2 separate regions of the Homo sapiens genome follow, and region 1 is linked to region 2. The links are contacts of gene promoters, found by promoter capture Hi-C in human tissues and cell types (Jung and others, 2019). All regions are on one chromosome and are shown on one strand. The core of a region is centred on a gene start or on the middle of the fragment in contact, and the rest is flanking DNA. Distances in the headings are between cores, read along the strand shown.

Region 1 (2,836 bases), core at 299-2,798, 140 kb before region 2:
CCCATGCTCTTAGCCTCCATACAGGCTGATTTGGGGAGCACACCTATGACTGCACTTGTGGTAAGGATGACGCTCACCCTACTTTTCCATTTGAATCATTTGAGTGGTTGTATGTGTTCTTGGAGTAGGGGTGGTCTTTCCCCATAGAGTGTCATCTCTTTCAGGACAAGGAGTCTGTCTGTCATGCACTTTCTCTTGTGGTTTGGTGCTCTGCACATACTGAAAACAAAATTAATATTGTTGATTTAACTGCCAAAGCTGGAGCACATAAGGATCATTAAGTGCAAAGAATACTGATCAAACAGAACAAGCTCTACCTCCTTATTTGCCAACCCCTAGAAGTTGAAATGGTGACAGGGGTGAGTTGAAAAGGAAGAAGTTTAGTTTTACCTTCTAAAGGTCAGCCTGTCTGTTGTCTGGTACAGGTAGAGATTACAACAATAACCCTTCAGGAAAACATTACATTTTGTCCCATGAAAAATAAACAGCATTTTGTCCATGCGTCACATACTAGTCTTTCTGGCATGATGGACTGTGGTTAAACTCAGCATATCCTGGGAATGGGTAGGAGAGGGACATCATTGAGTAGGAGAAAGTGAAACTGGGAAATGAACTGTGGAGAAAGAGATCTCCACAGGGTCAGTGACAAGTATTCAGAATGATCATGGGAAAAAGCGTAGTGTGGAGGAAAAGGGGGGCCGTGGAAGTGACTGAAGTTCAGACTGCATTCTGGGAGATGAAAGAAGCAAACAAGGGCACAGCACTAAGGAAGGAGAGGAGAAGGAGTTTGAGTTATACAAGATGTTCTCTGAAAAATGAAAGATACCAGAAGTGGCCATATTAAAAACCATCTCATAATGGACCTGCTTTACTTCAGAAGGGATAAGTGCTAGTATTTGCTAAGTCTGAGAAGTCACCATCACAGTCTTGTCATGATGAAGCATGCAGTGGCCACCCCAGAAACCTGAATCACCAAAGCTTCCTTTCCTCACCTCATTGCCATATAAACTGACTAGACTGGGATGGGAGAAAAAGATGGAGGCTTAAAAATATCCTCTCCAGCATCACCCAGGCACTAAGGGCAGTGAGGTGGCCAAGGTCCCATTTCTAGGGCTTTTAGATTTCCATTGATACCGCTCTAGGGGATTTGATGGATGTGCTTGTTGGCTCATCATGTCATCCCCTTTCCATAGGCACATCTGTAAAAATGTCACCAGAAGGTGGCCCAGTGAGCAGGAAACCCCAGGGGTGGGGTACGGGAGGCTCCATGGTTCTAATGGCTGATGCCACCCTGCTTCACTGGCCTGATGCCTCCATGTCTGTTATTAGGGTGTTCCTACTGTGGGGATTGGCACATTGTTTTCGTCCTATGTTATTATGCAACCGATTAGGTTGAGACTTAACCTAATCCGGTGCAGTCCAGTTCCTATTTTCCAAAGATGACAGTATACCCAGGCCACTTAAATTTGATCTGGGTGTTGGTGAGACTATTACACACCCACAAATAATCCAATAATCTCTTTGGCTGTGTCATTTCTACTGGTGTCTAACCTCATCCTTTTTATTTGGGTCCCATTGATTTATATTCTAAGTTTTAGGGATACTTTGGGGTGTCATCCCAACATATTGCCTGTATAAATACTGTCTCCTTAATTCCACAATTGAACATTACAGAGAGTTAGTGTTATTCTTATTTTACGTCTGAAAAAAATGGACACTAACAGGTTTGGTAACTTGTCCAAAATCACGTAGCTAGTAAATTCTAAGAATTGTGATTCCAGGCGGGCGCGGTGGCTCACGCCTGTAATCCCAGCACTTTGGGAGGCTGAGGCAGGCAGATCACGAGGTCAGGAGATCGAGACCATCCTGGCTAACACGGTGAAACCCCATCTTTACTAAAAATACAAAAAAAAAAATTAGCCAGGTGTGGTGGCAGGCGCCTGCACTCCCAGCTACTCAGGAGGCTGAGGCAGGAGAATGGCGTGAACCCAAGCAATGGAGCGTGCCGTGAGCTGAGATTGTGCCACTGCACTCCAGCCTGGGCGACAGAGCGAGACTCTGTCAAAAAACAACAACAACAACAAAAAAGAATTGTGATTCCATCTCTGATCACTCTGGTTTTAAAGTTCAGTCTTTTCCTACATAATGCTGAAGTGACCGGGAAAAGTCAAGCTTCTAAATTGGCAATTCAATTGGGAATTTACTATTATGGTCTGTGATGATGACATCTTATATCATGTACAACAGTGGATCAAACCTGACTGCACATCAGATCATGTTGTTGAGCTTTTAAAAACTATACATGCTTGGCGAGGTGTGGTGGCTCATACCTGTAATCCCAGCACTTTGGGAGGCCGGGCATATCACCTGAGGTCGGGAGTTCAAGACCAGCCTGACCGACATGGAGAAATCCTGTCTCTACTAAAAAATACAAAAAATTAGCTAGGCATGATGGCACATGCGTGTAATCCCAGCTACTCGGGAGGCTGAGGCAGGAGAATAGCTTCAACCTGGGAGGCAGAGCTTGGGATGAGCCAAGATCGTGCTATTGCAATTCAGCCTGGGCAACAAGAGCAAAACTCCATCTCAAAAACAAACAAACAAACAAAAAAACAAAAAACTATACATGCTTTGAATGTATTAATACAATTAGATTTGCTAATATTTTGTTCAGAATTTTCACATGTATGTTGATGAGAGAGATCATCCTGTAATTTTCCTTTCTTGTAATGTCCTTGTCTGTTTTGGATATCAAGGTTATGCTGGCCTCATAAAACAAGTTATAAAGTGTTCTCTTCTCTCTCTTTTTTTTTTTGGCAGTGACAGGGTTGCACCT
Region 2 (2,753 bases), core at 232-2,731:
GGTGACATGGCTGGAGTTGCCAAGACCTCTGATTGGTAATGCACAGCTACTGCAATGTGATGCTTTTTTCTCTGATTGGGGTAGACCCCATTAAACGTTTACAGCTGTGGCTAGCTAAGGGGACCCTGTCAGGAACTCCTGTGCTAGACTTTCCTCTTCAAGGAAGGGGTCTGTGTGTACGTGTGTATCTGTGTATGAATGTATATGTGTGTTGTTGCACAAAAATAGGAGTTAAGTGGAGAAATTGAACAAGATCTGAAAAGTGGATTGGAGGCAGGATTCCCCAGTAAGGGCTGATGTGGATAAGGAATTCAAGGGTGCAGAATCATGCAAGCCAAAGTATCCAGACTCGAGTTAAACTGGGATGGCGATTCGATGTCTATAAACCTTGTGGCATTTATGGCCTTAAGAGGTTTTCCTTGCCTCCCCAGTTTCTTACCAAACTCTCTCTTTGAAGAACTCCCACTTGATCCGAACTTGGTCTGGATGAAAGCAGGAAGTGCAGCCCTAGGTGCCAGGGCGGGAGCAAGCACTTCAAGACCCCCTCCAAAATCACCTGGACCGCACAGATCTAAGCAGCCGCATCCCCCACCACCCACACCCGGACCACTATTCCCTACCTTCCCCTCTTCCAAACAGTGCGTGTGTGGCAGCCTGCGCCTCTCGCCTTCCCCCGTGGAACCTCACACGAAGCGCCCCCGGGGGTGTGATTAAAGAGGGAACCAGGTCCCGACGTTCTGTGAACAAACGCGCGCCCTTACTCTCAGTGGGGCTCCCGTCCGACCCCCACTCCTCTCCTAACTCACGTAAGGACCCGGCTGTGACCGGACAAACCGGGTCTGGGGTGCTTCCAGTCACTCTTCAAGTCACTCCCAAACTTCTCAGACTGCACCCGAGGCTCTGCGGCGCCGCCTCCCTCTCCCGGCCTGGTACAGAGAAGGGCTGGGTGCGCCAGGACAGTAGTACCGGGGTCTGCCAGCTCCGCAGAGGTCCCTCCAATCCCCCCTCCTCCTCTGCGCCCCCCCACCCATGCCCAGCAATCCCAGCAGCTCCAGCGCAAACCTAGCGACGCAGTTCCGGGTCTGGCGGGGCGCGGGCGCGGCTCGCAGGGCGGTGGGACCCCCAAGACCTCACGAGGATCCCCGGAGGGAGACGTGACTCCGGGGTCTTAGAGGGGTTTAGGTCGGATGGGTGACTTGCTTTGACGCCTGGCCTGGTCTGTGGGTGGCAGGTGATCGATGGCCTTGGACTTGGAGCCCAGACCCGACGGTGTCGAGAGGATCTGAGGAGAGTCTCCCCTCCCCATACCCTCTCCGCCTCCCACCCTCTCCCCAGCCCCATGGGACTTGTGAAGGCGGACTTGCTTTTTTCGCCGTCCACACAACCGCACTAGCCGGGCCTTCGGCACCGACGGAACATCTCTACCTGCGCCCCGGGAGCCCTCGCCGTCTCACCTCGCGCGCTGCCGTCCGCTGGAAGCACCTCCGCGCCTCCCCAGGCGCCAGACTCCATCCCGCCCCACTGCGCCCCGCCCCGTGGCTGAGCCGAGCCGGGCCGTGCCTTCCCCTCCTCACCCCCAGCCCCGCCCGTCCCGGCGCAGAGCTGCAGAGGCACCGGACGAGAGAGGGCTCCGCGGGCCCAGCTGGCAGCCAGGCCGGAGACAAGTTGCAGTCCCGGGCTCTGGTGACGCCGTGGCCGCAGGTCAGATTTGGGAGGGCTTTTCCCGGCCCGCGGGCCTGGGCGCTCCGGGGGAGGGAGCTCCAAGGGCAGGGTGGCGGGGGAGCCGCAGCTCCTCCACGTTATGGAAGAAAGGGGAATGCTAGCCCCCTGCGCCTCCGATCTTATCCTAAGGCTAAAACCGGTCCTGTTAGGGCCTGTCCTCTGCCCAATCAAGGTTTTGAGAGACTGGGTTCTTTGGGACCTGGGAATGTTGGGTGGCCTAGTTTGCCTGGGCCTGCGGGTTCTTCTCCTGGCACCAGCACAACATACCAGGGAGGGAGCTTTGGGCTTTAGGATCCAAGCTTTCCCCCTCAGCCCTCCCTTAGGACCAAGATGGCCTTGACCCATCTTCCTCCCACCTCAGGGCCACCAGGGTCACCACTCTAGGGCTTCAGGCTGGAAAAGCAGCCATGTGGGGCAAGAACAGGCAGGCCTGTGTTCTCTCTCTGGTTCTGCCGCTGGCTCTGCCTGGGGCTTCACTGCCCTGTCCTGGGCAACCTTCCTGTCAAGGTTGTTGAGAAGTTACTGCCCCATCGTTGTGTAAATCATTAAGGGCAACCCACCCACAAGGAGTGGTTATTAAGCATGTCCACCTTCCTCTTCAGGTCATCCCCACACAGCCTGGTCTGAAAGCCCATTTCATGCCCTTAGGGGCTGAGTGGTACATTAGCGTTGAGGCCCAGGATCCTGAAGACATGGTGGTGGCGGGGGAGGGGAATGACATCTTGGGATCAGGGAAGGACCGCTGTGGCTACTTCCGTATATCCAGCTTTACAGCTTCAACCATCCAGAGCCCAGCTCTTCATGCACTATTAAAGGCCAGCACCTGGACAGACTCTGTGAAATGCAGCAGGTGATACTGAGCTTTCCAGTTATGGCAGGGCCTAGGTTTTTTCATTTAATAGGAGATGGAGTAGGGATGAGGTCACTCCCTGGGTTCTCTCCTCTAGACAACCCATCCAGGAACCCTGATGTTTGGCTGGGGATGAGGCTTTCCCTGAGCTCCTTTCTTCCTCTATCCTAACCCCAATCTC

The links. Contacts are between HindIII fragments. The study calls those that stand out against the background at their distance.
Region 1: a fragment that was not itself captured here is called in contact with the fragment with the promoter of DUOXA1 in region 2 in 1 of the 25 tissues and cell types used here (spleen).

What each region holds. Positions count from the first base shown.
Region 1 is chr15:44,987,803-44,990,638 of GRCh38, forward strand. No RefSeq gene overlaps it. Among named protein-coding and RNA genes, the nearest start is that of TERB2, 33 kb to the left of the region's middle. The HindIII fragment of the contact is 3,284 bases long and covers 1-2,836 here.
Region 2 is chr15:45,128,398-45,131,150 of GRCh38, forward strand. DUOXA1 (dual oxidase maturation factor 1) reads right to left here and starts at 1,482. Exons shown (of 9, transcript NM_001276266.2): 1 at 1,455-1,482; 2 at 1,063-1,218; 3 at 621-737. It overlaps DUOX1 (dual oxidase 1), which reads left to right and starts at 1,597. Exons shown (of 34, transcript NM_175940.3): 1 at 1,597-1,701. The HindIII fragment of the contact is 11,393 bases long and covers 1-2,450 here.